4 separate regions of the Homo sapiens genome follow, and regions 2, 3 and 4 are each linked to region 1. The links are contacts of gene promoters, found by promoter capture Hi-C in blood cells and fetal thymus (Javierre and others, 2016). All regions are on one chromosome and are shown on one strand. Each heading gives the region's core, a stretch centred on a gene start or on the middle of the fragment in contact. The rest is flanking DNA. Distances are from core to core; before and after follow the strand shown. Region 1 holds the start of USP6 (ubiquitin specific peptidase 6). Region 2 overlaps RABEP1 (rabaptin, RAB GTPase binding effector protein 1). Region 3 overlaps RABEP1 (rabaptin, RAB GTPase binding effector protein 1). Region 4 overlaps RABEP1 (rabaptin, RAB GTPase binding effector protein 1).

Region 1 (3,174 bases), core at 485-2,984:
TCTTGCTTGTACTATTATCGCAGCCTCCTAACATGCCTCCCTGATTCCAACGCTTCTCTACAGGGCAGCTGGAATGTTCTTCCTTCAGAACAAATCTGATAGTGCCATCCCCCTCTCTAAATTTCCACAGTGATTTCCCACTAACTTCAGCCTGAAGTCCAAAGTCCTTATTGTGACATATATATTCTGATGCGACCCCATTTATTCACTTGTGCTGTAAATATTTATTGAGCTTTTTTTTTTTTTTTTTGAGACGGAGTCTCGCTCTGTCGCCCAGGCTGGAGTGCAGTGGTGCAATCTCAGCTCACTGCAACCTTTGCCTCCCGGGTTCAAGTGATTCTCCTGCCTCAGCCTCCTGAGTAGCTGGGATTACAGGTGTGTGCCTCCACACCCGGCTAATTTTTGTATTTTTTGTAGAGAGGGGGTTTCACCATGTTGGTCAGGCTGGTCTCAAACTCCTGACCTCATGATCCACCCGCCTCGGCCTCCCAAAGTGCTGGGATTAGAGGCTTGAGCCCCCTCGCCCAGGCTTATCGAGCTTTTAATATGTGTTAAGCAGCGGGTGCTACAAAGCAGGGTGAGCATAAATGGACAAGTCTCTGGCCTGATGGAACTTATAATTGTAGAAGAGAAACTAATTAGAATCATTAATAAAGTTGCAACCATAAGTGCCAAAAAGGAGAGGCATATGATACTACAGTGGGGAGTCTCACCTAGCTGGGGAAGGCTTTCTGCAAAGTACTTACCTTTCCTTCCTATTATTTACCCATGAACTCTCTGCAGTTCCCCAAGAATGTAGGCACCGCCCTCTTGCCCTGTGGCCTTTCCACGAGCTGTTCCCTCTGTGAAGATTGCTCCCTCCGTACCTAGCTCCATCACTTTTCAGTACTTGCTATGTGTTGGGTACCGTGATAAGCACTTACCATCAATTTTCTCTTGTATTTACCTCAGTGAGTGCAACTGTTAACCCTGTTTTATACATAAGAAACTACGCTCTAGAAAGGCAAATTTGCCCAAAGACTCACAACTAGTAAGTGAAGAAACGAATTCAAATTCCGGTCGGCCCGACTCGAAAGCGGTCTTGGCGGTACAGTCTTGGGTCTCCCAGTTCCTTCCTGTTCAGGCCTCACGTATCTGCCCGCCTTTCCTGACAGACCCCTGGTGAGGGTCTAGTGCCTCCACGGGCCACGGCCATCGTAAGGCAGCAACTGTAACTTGTCGCCCGCCCCACTAGGCTGAGCTCTTCCCGGACAGGCACTGGCCTTTTCCCTTTCGTCGGCTCAGTGACTCCAGGTAGACGCCCCTCAGACACCACACGAGACGGCGGCTCACATGGGCCAGAAGTGTTTCCCCTCTCCCCCAGCGGCTTGTCTAGGAAAACATGAGGACTCGGTTCGACTCGATGGTGCGGGCCTAAGCCCCGGGAAGCCGGGAGTGGTGAGGCGGGCCGCCGGGAGCGGGGCCGGGAGTGGTGAGGGGGGCCGCCCGGAGCGGGGCCGGGAGTGGCGTCGAGCAGAGAGCCCGCAGGCGGGAAGTCCTCTCAATGAGCGTCTCGAGCGCTGCCCGCGGCCCCTCCTGACTGCTAGTTGGAGCGGGGACAGCATGGGCGCGGCCGCCAAGGTAGCGTCGAGTGAGGGGAAGACTGATGGGCGCCTGGAGACGAGCTCCCACAGCGGCCACGCATTTGGAGCTGGGCGTCGGGGCCCGCCCGTCCCGCCGCGCCGCTAGCTGTCCCCTCTGCCTGGCCTCCGTGCCTTGCGCCCCTTTGTGCCGTCCAGCCCTACAGCTTTGAGGCCCTTTCGGCGCACGCACCCCGCCCCGATCCCCCGGCGCTATCCCAGCCTTGACGGCCGGGGAGGCTTTCCCTAGCCCGGCGCCTCGAGGACCGCCTCAGTGGCCAAAGGCGGCGCGGGGTGCGCCCGGGCTGTGTCCCCGGGAGGCTGGACCGCCAGTCCGCGCATGAGGCCATCTGTGAGGCACGAGTGCAGGAGAGTGAAGGAGACCGGGGCGTGCTGAGTAGGGACCTCCCTCAGTGACTGGAAGGTTATTCATGGGGCCTTCTGACACTCTAAAAACGAAATTTCTCCGGGGTTTGATGAGTATCAGGGTGGTGGCTTCTTGAGTTTTGAGCAGGCATCACAAATCAATCCCTCTGGAATACAGAACTGCCTCTGTTCCGTTTTGGGTTTTGTGTGTGTGTGTGTGTGTGTTTTTGGAGACGGAGTCTTGCTCTGTTGCCCAAGCCGGAGTGCAGTGGCGCCATCTCGGCTCACTGTAACCTCCGCCTCCCGGGTTAAAGCTGTTGTCCCGCCTCAGCCTCCCGAGTAGCTGGGATTACAGGCGCCCCCCACCACGCCAGGCTAATTTTGTATTTTTAGTAGAGAGAGGGTTTCACCATGTTGGCCAGGCTGGTCTTGAACTCCTGACCTCAGGTGATCCACTGGCCTCGGCCTCGCAAAGTGCTGGAATTACAGGCACGACCCACCACATCCGGCCCTCTGTTCCTTGTTTCGAAATAACTCAATTAAAAGTCAGAGGCTCACTGGCCACATCTCCTTCCACCCACCCACCGCCCCACCCCCCAAAAGATGCCTCTAGCAAATAAAATGAGACGTCCTGATGCCTTCCTGGCTCGTTCCAGAATTTTTAGCTTTGACTTTTGACGTGGGGTCCTTCTACCTAAAGTCCCCGCCGTCACATCAGCCCCCAGTTTTCCTCTGTCTTAGCTCGGGCTGCCGTAACAAAATACCATAGACTGGATGCCAGACAACAGAAATTTATTTTCTCAGTTTTGGAGGCTGCAAGGCTGTGACCAGGGCCCAACATGGTCAGGTTCTGGTGAGAGCTCCCTGGCTGCCTTCTCACAGGGTCCTCACATGGCAGAGAGAGAGGGACCCAAAGCCCTCTGGTGTCTTTTTTGTTTGTTTGTTATTTTTTGGGACGGAGTCTCACACTGCTGCCAGGCTGGAGTGCAGTGGCCCGATCTCGGCTCACTGCAACCTCCACCTCCCAGGTTCAAGTAATTCTCCAGCCCCAGCCTCCCAATTAGCTGGGATTACAGGCACCCACCACCACACCCGGCTAATTTTTGTATTTTTAGTAGAGAGGGGCTTTCACCATGCTGGCCAGGCTGGTCTCGAACTCCTGAGCCCAGCTGATCCACCCGCCTCGGTT
Region 2 (3,174 bases), core at 209-2,708, 240 kb before region 1:
GCACTCCAGCCTGGGTGAGAGTGAGACCCTGTCTCAAATTAAAAAAAAAAAAAAAAGAAATATGTTAACATATGTTAACATATATATTATCTCTGGAAAAGAAAATAAGGAAAGGAAGAAAGAGATACATACCAAAATATTAGTTGTTACCTCTGGGTAGGATGATCTATCAGTTATTTTTATTTTGAATGGTGTTTTCTATACTTCCCAAATTTTCCATAATGAACATTTTGTAGAGAGAAAAGCATATTATAAGCATCAGGTTAAAGAAAATGTGAGGTCTACAAATTTCAAATATCTTTAGCCATAAATCCAACTCTCCAAAGCATCTCAGATTAACTTTTGTGTGTGTGAGACAGGATCTCACTGTCATCCAGGCTGGAGTGCAGTAGCAAAATCTCAGCTCATTGCAACCTCCACCTCCCGGGTTCAAACAATTCTCATGCCTCAGTCACCTGAGTAGCTGGGATTACAGGGATCCACCACCTCGCCCAGCTAATTTGTGTATTTTTAGTAGAGATAGGGTTTCACACCATGTTAGCTAGGCTTCAGATTAACTCTAAACCAAGAGTTGTGTCATTATTCTCAATACAAAACAATTATATTCAACATTCAAACTGCAAAACACCAGCTCTGAAAGTCTACGGATCTGTTAAGAGAGAATCAAAAATAAAAATACTTCTCTGTAAATCACAACAAATGTCCCTTTCCTGTTTTCCCACTTTTCAAACATTCCTGGATAGATTACTGCATGATGAAAACACTATGTAATCATTGGCTGTACCCAAAACTTGAGACATTCTCTTGGGAGTCTAAATATTTTTAAAATGCACAGCAGAATTAGACCAAGTGGTTCCCAGTCTATGTCCCAGAACAAAGAATGAACAAAACAACTTCAATATACAGCACTTTTTAGTGTCTACTAAAATTTTTTTTAAGTTTTTCTTAAACATCAAACAATCTGTAAGCATGGGCATATATATAACCACCAGGATGTAGATTATGTATGGCTCAAAGTAAATCTGCAAAGTAAATAGAAACATGATACCCCTGAAAGTAAAGACAAGACCTGTATCCAATTTAAGTGCAATTCATTCACCAGGCCAGGAAAGGAGGTGCCGCAGGGAAGTGAGTGTGATTCTAAGCCGCAGGGACAGGCCACATGAGCATGAACAGTAAGTGCACAGGTCTGGCTACAGAGAGGTGGAGAGCAGTAAGTGAGGCTGGAAGGGCCATTCAACTGTGAATGCCCTTGTATGCCATGCTAGGGATCTTGGGGGATCTTAGTTTTTATTCTAAAGGCAATAAGAGAAGCAGTTCCTTCACTGATAACAAGATGAGCTTTGAAAGATGAGTAGAAGGATTTCAATACTCAGAAAGGCAATGGGAGGAAAGTACTCCAAATGAAGGAACCAACAGACCAAGTGGGAATACAGCCCAAGATGATGACCAACATGGCTAAAATGTAATCCAGATGATGAAGGGCCTTAATTGTCAGAGTGAGGAATGTGTGCTTAATTATATAGGTAATGGGAGTCAATGGTAGTTTTTGAGTAGGGGAGTGGCCTGACTGCAGCTGCACTTAAGAAAATGAATTTGACAGTAATGCTGAGGACGCAGTGGAATGGGACAGGTTGAGGCAGGAAACCCAATGAGGAGGCCCTTGCCACACTGTAGGTGAGAGGTGACAAGGCCACAGAACACCTAACACTTCCAGGTCTCTCTACTCTACCCATTCCTAGTACCTGAAACATTTTACCCTGTGGTGTTATCTGCCAAACCTCACCCATGGCCGTCAGGGATGAAAACCTAATACTGGTTAATACTCTCATATATGCTACAGGGAGTTAAGCATTTCAGCGCTTTAGATAATCTCTTTTTAAACAAAAAAGACAAGTATTAGCAACATGTACTATTCACATCAAAAAAGATTTTGCAGACATTATTTAAAGGTTTATTCTAATGTATTAAATTTTGGAAATACTGGAAAAAAGAACATCTATTTCAGACAGCGAATGAAGCTGCAACATGTTTCAAATAGTGCTACCTATAATGCCATAAAAACAACTGAAAATACTGTCATTTTTATCTAACTTTCACCTCGTAGCTATGCACTTCTCACTTCTCATATGAACAATGTAATTAACTGATGTATGAGTAAGCTAAAATTGTTGACATTGTGTATTTAATGACTTTAATTATAGACTCACTATACCTCTTCATTTGATAACTGGGCTGAAGATTCTTCTTGAGTTAAAGCACACACTACTGGTATTTTTATTTCTTCCTCAACATCTGCTTTTTTGTGATCCTTTCTCTTATTGAGTCTTTGTTGTTCATCATCCTCCTAAAAGGAAGAAAAAAACATATATATGACCCAAGTAACCTACTTAATAAGTGACACAGTTCTTTAACCATTCAAAACAAATAAAGAACAGAGCGTTATGATAAGAGAAAACTGGATACTTACGCTTCTTTGTTTTGTAATCCCATCTAAGGGCCTCTGGCCATTACAAAATATTTTAATATTATAAGCACAAACTAAGAACACTGGTATAAAGAAGAAATCAGGAAGCAGCTTCCAAGAAAAGTATACTGTATAAAGTAAGGCAAAATAAAAGAAAGCAAAACCGCCTCTTCAAATGATCCTTGAAAAAAAAAATTTACACAGAACATTCCTTGTGATTACTGTAGAAAATAAATATGAAAAAGTTTGTTTTTGAGACAAGGTCTTGCTCTGACACTCAGGCTGGAATGCAGTGGTGCAAATATGGTTCACTGCAGCCTCAACCTCCTGGGTTCAAGCAATTCTCCCACCTCATCCTCTCCACATAGCTGGAATCATAGGCATGTGCCACCACGCCCGCCTAATTTTTTTATTTTTTGTAGAGACGGGGTTTCACATTGTTGCCCAGGCTGGTCTTGAACTCCTGGGCTCAAGCAATCCTCCTGCCTCATCCTCTCGTGTAGCCGGGATCACAGGCATGCACCACCATGCCTGGCTAATTTTTTGGTTTTTTTGCATAGATGGGGTCTCACGCTGTTGTCCTGGCTGGTCTCAAACTCCCAGGCTCAAGCGATCCTCCCACCTTGGCCTCCCAAAGCGTTGGGACTACAGGCATGAGACACCACACCCCACCCAAAAAAGTTTTTATAATGTTACACATCCATTAG
Region 3 (3,174 bases), core at 675-3,174, 210 kb before region 1:
GCTGAAGCTCATCAATGTAAACAGTTACTTTACCCTTTGCATGGCAGCTCTCTCTACTCCAGCACATTCCCTGTGCCCATACAGCTTAATTATTTGAGATTACTAGCCTGCCTCCTAGAAGAAATCGACTTTTAAGCCTTACAATGAACTATAGTCCTCATTTAATGCATTATCTCTATAACATCCCTATTATAACTCTCCATTATTAAGTTAGATACGATTGATATATCCATTTATGTTATTAGTGACTTCTCTTTTATCTGAAAGTATATCTTGATGATGACAGTACATAAAACCACAAATGAAACTCTGTATATATTTTAAGATTCTCTGAAAATATTCTCAATCATCAGAATCGGATATCTTAGAAAATCACAAAATTGATCTTTCTCTGTCTTTACCTTTCATAACAGCCTGAAGTGAAGCAACTTCTTCTCTCCACTGTCTTTTCACTTCATCTATAGCTTCTTGCTTGGTGTTCTCAGAGACTGTGGCAATCGCCTTAATATTCTCCATCTCTGCTTGAGCTTCCCACAGCTGGGTTCGAAGGTGTCCCAAATCATCTTGTGCAGCTTGTAATACTGCATTTTGCCTCTTCAGATCCTCTGGAGAGAAAAGTAAAAGATAGTCCATTAATGTTCACTTTGATCAGACTGGCATTCCAATAAAGAAATAAGGTATTAAATTTTAAAATATAAACATACAAAATGACACCCTTTTAATAGAGGTGAGATTTAAGGTAAGCTGGGTATCACAAATCAATTGTTACTATCTATCTAATGATCCAGTAGTTACAGTCATGGTTTTAGAGCTCAATTTACGCATTCCCGTCTGCTGACTAAATGAACTTGGTCATGTTATTTAATCTCTCTGGCCTAAGTTTCCACATCTGCAAAATGGAAGTTAAAAACAGCCACCTCACAAGGTTGTTGTAATGATAATTTATTGGAAACGCTAATTAGTACATTACCTTCCACAAACATTCAAAAAATGTTTAATAAAAGAGAAAAGAAAGCCAGAGCACATGGCAGTGACTAGACGTATGTTCTTTAAAGTTAGCATTAATTTCTCGGCTCCCTCTTACCATCTTTTAAATACTAAGTTGATGTAATGTGCCTACTACATGGTTTAAGCCCAGGCAGAACATATGTTTGGCCAAACTAACTTCAAAAAAAAGATGAACTTATCAACAGTATACAGGGATGTGTGATTGTTTTCCCATACCCTTAACAACAGTCACTATTTTCCATCTTTTAAAAATTCTTGTAAATATCATGGGTAGCAAATGGTCACTTTAATCTACATTTTCCCTGTTAATAAGGAGTTTGAGCATCTTCTCATATATGTACTAGTGACTCATTTCCTCTTTGGTGACATTCTTTACATTTGCTTCTAATGAATGATTTTCCTTCTGATCTGTAAGAGCATTTTATATATTCTGGATATTAAGTCTGTCTTCTCTTACAAAACTTTTCCCAGTCAGCCGCTGTGTTTCTTTAAAAAAAAAAAAAAAAAAAAAAAAAAAAGTTAAGAGATAGGGTCTCAATTGTCGCACAGGCTGGAGTGCAGTGACGCAAACATAGACCACTATAACCTCAAATTCCTGGGCTCAAGCGATCCCCCCACCTCAGCCTCCTGAGTAGCTAGGACTGCAGGCATGCACCATCACGCCCGGCTAATTTTTGAAATTTCTTGTAGAGACAAAGTTTCACTACGCTGCCCAGGCTGGTCTTGGCCTCCTGGGCTGAAATGATCCTCCCGCCTCAGCCTCCCAAAGCGTTGGGATTACAGGTGTGAGCCACCGCGCCCGGCCTTAACTTACGCCTTTTAGCATCTAAAGTTGTAAGGTATTTATGAAAAAAAAAATTCTTCATCTTTGTAAAAGTATCAATTTCCTCTCCAAAGCACAATAACTGAGCCAAACTGACCATGAAAATAAACTGATTTAAGGTCTAATTCTACCGCTAACCAGCTGTATGACTTTAAGGAAATCACAAGATTCTCAAGCCTCAGTTTCCTCATGAAGACAGTGGCAATACTTTCTTGCATAAATTTCTAACTACTTATAAAAATCCAATAGTAAAATAAGAGAACTTTTAAACGTTGTGAAATGTTCATTGTTATCACAGGAGTTAATGATTTGGTAGTCAAAGTCACAGAGGGAAACACCTAGTCATGCTAAGTTGTTTTGAAATCTTTACTCTCTCAACATCAGTTTCCATCACTCTTAAAATATTTTGAATCTCTAGCCAAAGACAGTTTTAAGAACATTAATTAAAAAAGTAATTGTGTGAAGTCCCTTAAAGACAGACACCTGGGAAGTTGTGGTAGGCATGCAAATAGACAGACCCAGAAAGATGTAAACACGTGAAACCACAAAGGAAAAGTTTATGTGTGTCAACTCTGTATTCTGAGTGTTAAACTGTTTCATAAAATGTGAAAAAAGAAAAAGCATTATTTCTGGGATACTTTATTCATTTTTGGGTACTACAATTTTATCAAGGCTCAAGTTTATACACTTAACAGGTCCTCATGCTAATTACCTCTGGTACTTTTGATTTGCTGGAGATTACCCAGAGCTATTCACTACCATGTTGTCATTATGAACAGAAAAACTGTAAACAAATACCAAGCCTAAATATCCATTTTTGGCACTTAAAAGTGAAATAGAGAGCCTGGAGGAAGACTTGGTCAACAGTAACTTTAGTTATATATATATATATATATATATATATGAACATATATATGAATGTTATATTTATATATATAAATACAAAAAAACAGGAGACAGAAATTTAAAATAAAGTTAGAAAATCTTAATTTTTTGTAGTAAAGCATTTCAAACATTATGTTTGCCAACAGTAGGAGTTCTAACATTCGTTTATTGCTTTTACTGCTGTATATGTAATTATTAAGATTTTCAAACATATTCAAAAGTTGAGGGTATACTACAACAATCCTTCATATAGCTTTCACCAAGACTCAAAAGGTATTAAGATTTGCCATGCTTATTTATTTTTTTGAGACGGAGTCTCGCTCTTGTTGCCCAGGCTAGAGTGCAGTGGCACGATCTTGGCTCACTGCAACCTCTGCCTCCCGGGTTCAACAGATTGTCCTGCTTCAGCCTCCCAAGTAGCTGGGATTACAGGCGCGTGCCACCACGCCCAGCTAATT
Region 4 (3,174 bases), core at 494-2,993, 190 kb before region 1:
CGTCTCTGAGGGGGGAAGCCAGTAATCCTTGTTTTAACGAACCCTATTAGGTAATTCAAATGCACACGCAAGCCCATTGTGGTGGCTCACGCCTGTAATCCCAGCACTCTGGGAGGCCGAGGCAGGCGGATCATCTGAGGTCAGGAGTTCGAGACCAGCCTGGCCAACATGGTGAGACCCCGTCTCTACTAGAAATACAAAAATTAGCAGGGCGTGGTGGCACACACCTGTAGCCCCAGCTACTAGGGAGGCTAAGGCACAAGAGTCGCTTGAACCCAGGAGGCGGAGGTTGCAGTGAGCCAAGATCACACCACTGCACTTCAGCCTGGACAACACAGCGAGACTCGGTCTCAAAAAAAAAAAAAAATGAATGAAACAAATGCACACTCAAGTTTCAAAACCATTTTTAAGAAAAAAATTCTAAAGGAGATGTAAAGAAGAAAACCCAACGCAAGGAGGAAAACCACTGTAAAATTTCGGCTATAAAGCTATTCATGTGTTTGTTAAACAGATAACAATGGATAAATCACTGATATTTTCATTCCACTGGATATGTTTAAAAGCAGGAAGTTGGCCAGGCGTGGTGGCTCACCCAGCACTTTGGGAGGCCGAAGCGGGCGGATCACAAGGTCAGGAGTTTGAGACCAGCCTGACCAACATGGTGAAACCCCGTCTCTACTAAAAATACAAAAATTAGCCGGGCATGGTGGCACACACCTGTAATCCCAGCTACTCGGGAGGCTGGGGCAGGGCAGGAGAATCACTTGAATATGGGAGGCGGAGGTTGTAGTGAGCTGAGATAGTGCCACTGAACTCCAGCCTGCGTGACAGGGGAAGATGTCGGGGGAGACTCCCATCTCAAAAAAAAAAAAAAAAAAGGACGAAGCTTTCATTTAAATTGTAAATATCAACAATATAAAATTTTATCCTTCACATCTTTTCAAGCAAAAAATTTTAAACATCAACTTTAACATGTATGAAGGTTGTATGTAAGTATATATTTTACAGAGTTCATAAGTTAAAAAAGGTGCATGATCACTAGTCCAGAACAGGATTTTTCAAACTGTAGTACTTGAACTAGCAGTAACTGGAATCATCTATGAGCTTATTAGAAATGCAAATTTCTGGGCTCCACCCAAACATACTGTGGTTTAACAAGCTCTCCAGGTGATTTTTATCCACATTTGAATTTGAGAGCCACTATTCTATTATAGACTAGAGCAGTTTTCAAAATTTAGTGTGCAGCTGGACCCAAATCCCACAGTTTCTAACTCAGTAAATCTGGGTGGGACCCAAACATTTGCATTTCTAACAACTTTCCCAGGTGATGATGACGATAATGATGCTGTTCCACAATCACACTTTGAGAATCACTGGTCTAGAGAGCTGTGGAAACTACATTCACATTATTCTAGGTCGATACTCAGAAGGTAAGCCCCTTCCCTGATCCTTCAAATCAGGTCCCCCAACATGTTCTCTCATGTATTTTCCTTATACAGTTTCTTTTTCTTTTTTTTTTTTTTTTGAGATGGGAGTTTCACTCTTGTCGCCCACGCTGGAGTGCAATGGCGCAATCTCAGCTCACCTCAACGTCTGCCTCCTGGGTTCAAGCAATTCTTCTGCCTCAGCCTCCCGAGCAGCTGGGATTACAGGCATGCGCCACCATGCCCAGCTAATTTTGTATTTTTAGTACAGACAGGGTTTCTCCATGTTGGCCAGGCTGGACTTGAACTCCCGACCTCAGGTGATCCGCCCCCGCCCGTTGGCCTCCCAAAGTGCTGGGATTACAGGTGTGAGCCACCGCGCCCAGCCTGCAATTTCCTGTTTTAACGACTCATCACACAATTACTTAACATCTGTTTTGCTCATTGAGTTCAACCAAGTTAAAGAACCACATGAATTTTCCTCTTTCTGTATACCCAACACAAGTATAATGTCTGCCTCATAGTAGATATTAAATAAATATTTATTGATAAATAACTGAATATTTGTTGGGTAAAACTGATGTTTCATGGAATTAAAGATAACATAGCTAAAGCTGTTATTAGAATGCCAACAATCCTAGTTTGCCCACAACTGTATCCCAAATGTTAAGAGCAATAACATTCTCTTATCTCAAGGCTATGCAACCTAAATATGAACAGTAAGATCAAAAAACAAGGCAAAATCTGAAGAAGGCATTTTTCAACTTGTTTTTCAATCCCATTCTTAACCTAGCCTTTAAACAGTATTCTTTTATTATGCAAGTACAAATAAAATCAAGGTTTATTCAATGATAAAATTAACACTACTACCAAGAAACTCAACACTTTAAGGCAGTTTTCGCATTGAAGTTGGTGCGAGACTTATGAACTTACCCTCTTTAGCCAAATATAACTCCTTAAATTTTGCTCTCTTTTGATTAAATTCTTGTTCAAGCTGCTGTTGTGCACGTAAAAATTCTGCATTAATTTTTTCCAATTCTGCTACCCGTTGCTGAAGAGAAACTGGGGGAAAAAAACACTAGTTAACAAGTAATAACTTTTATTCATAAATTTATAAAACAGTAAATTAGTATTCTAGCTGTACATTGCTATACGTGAAACAAGTAGTCAAGCTTCTTCCAAAAATCCACCATATGCTAGGATATTCTAATGTTTAAAAAAAGTAAGACAGACCAGGCATGGTGGCTCACGCCTGTAATCCCAGCACTTTGGGAGGCCGAGGCGGGCGGATCACCCGAGGTCAGGAGTTCGAGACCAGCCTGGCCGACATGGAGAAATCCCATCTCTATTAAAAATACAAAAATTAGCCAGGTGTAGTGGCAGGTGCCTGTAATCCCAGCTACTCAGGAGGCTGAGGCAGGAGAATCGCTTGAACCCGGGAGGCGGAGGTTGCAGTGGGCCGAGATCGCACCACTGCACTCTAGCCTGGGTGACAGAGTGAGACTCTGTCTCAAAAAAAAAAAAAAAGATCCTTGTATTAGACTTAATACACAACTGTAAATGAGTCATGTAAAGTGAAACCACAAATATACAGAGAATCACATAAGGCCAACTTCCCCACAAAAAAAAGAGCTTCTAAAGTGCCTTTGTGCAACTGAATAGCAATTTAATTTTAGAACTGTTAAATATTGGATTATTTGAACTACTTATCCCACAAATGAACCTACTGCCAATCTTGCTATTTCCCATT

The links. The method cuts DNA at HindIII sites, captures the fragments that hold promoters and counts their contacts. A CHiCAGO score of 5 or more calls a contact.
Region 2: a contact is called between a fragment that was not itself captured here and the fragment with the promoter of USP6 in region 1, in 2 of 17 cell types (naive B cells and total B cells). The highest score is 5.4, in naive B cells.
Region 3: a fragment that was not itself captured here is called in contact with the fragment with the promoter of USP6 in region 1 in 2 of 17 cell types (naive B cells and total B cells); the score reaches 6.8 in naive B cells.
Region 4: a fragment that was not itself captured here is called in contact with the fragment with the promoter of USP6 in region 1 in 2 of 17 cell types (total B cells and naive B cells); the score reaches 7.7 in total B cells.

What each region holds. Positions count from the first base shown.
Region 1 is chr17:5,114,592-5,117,765 of GRCh38, reverse strand. USP6 (ubiquitin specific peptidase 6) reads right to left here and starts at 1,734. Exons shown (of 38, transcript NM_001304284.2): 1 at 1,026-1,734. It also overlaps a transcript of ZNF232 not described here. The HindIII fragment of the contact is 5,308 bases long and covers 1-3,174 here.
Region 2 is chr17:5,353,532-5,356,705 of GRCh38, reverse strand. It overlaps RABEP1 (rabaptin, RAB GTPase binding effector protein 1), which reads right to left. Exons shown (of 18, transcript NM_004703.6): 8 at 2,216-2,347. Among named protein-coding and RNA genes, the nearest start is that of NUP88, 65 kb to the left of the region's middle. The HindIII fragment of the contact is 8,608 bases long and covers 1-3,174 here.
Region 3 is chr17:5,329,380-5,332,553 of GRCh38, reverse strand. RABEP1 (rabaptin, RAB GTPase binding effector protein 1) reads right to left here. Exons shown (of 18, transcript NM_004703.6): 3 at 402-605. Among named protein-coding and RNA genes, the nearest start is that of RABEP1, 49 kb to the right of the region's middle. The HindIII fragment of the contact is 8,927 bases long and covers 1-3,174 here.
Region 4 is chr17:5,308,006-5,311,179 of GRCh38, reverse strand. RABEP1 (rabaptin, RAB GTPase binding effector protein 1) reads right to left here. Exons shown (of 18, transcript NM_004703.6): 2 at 2,358-2,486. Among named protein-coding and RNA genes, the nearest start is that of RABEP1, 27 kb to the right of the region's middle. The HindIII fragment of the contact is 1,710 bases long and covers 889-2,598 here.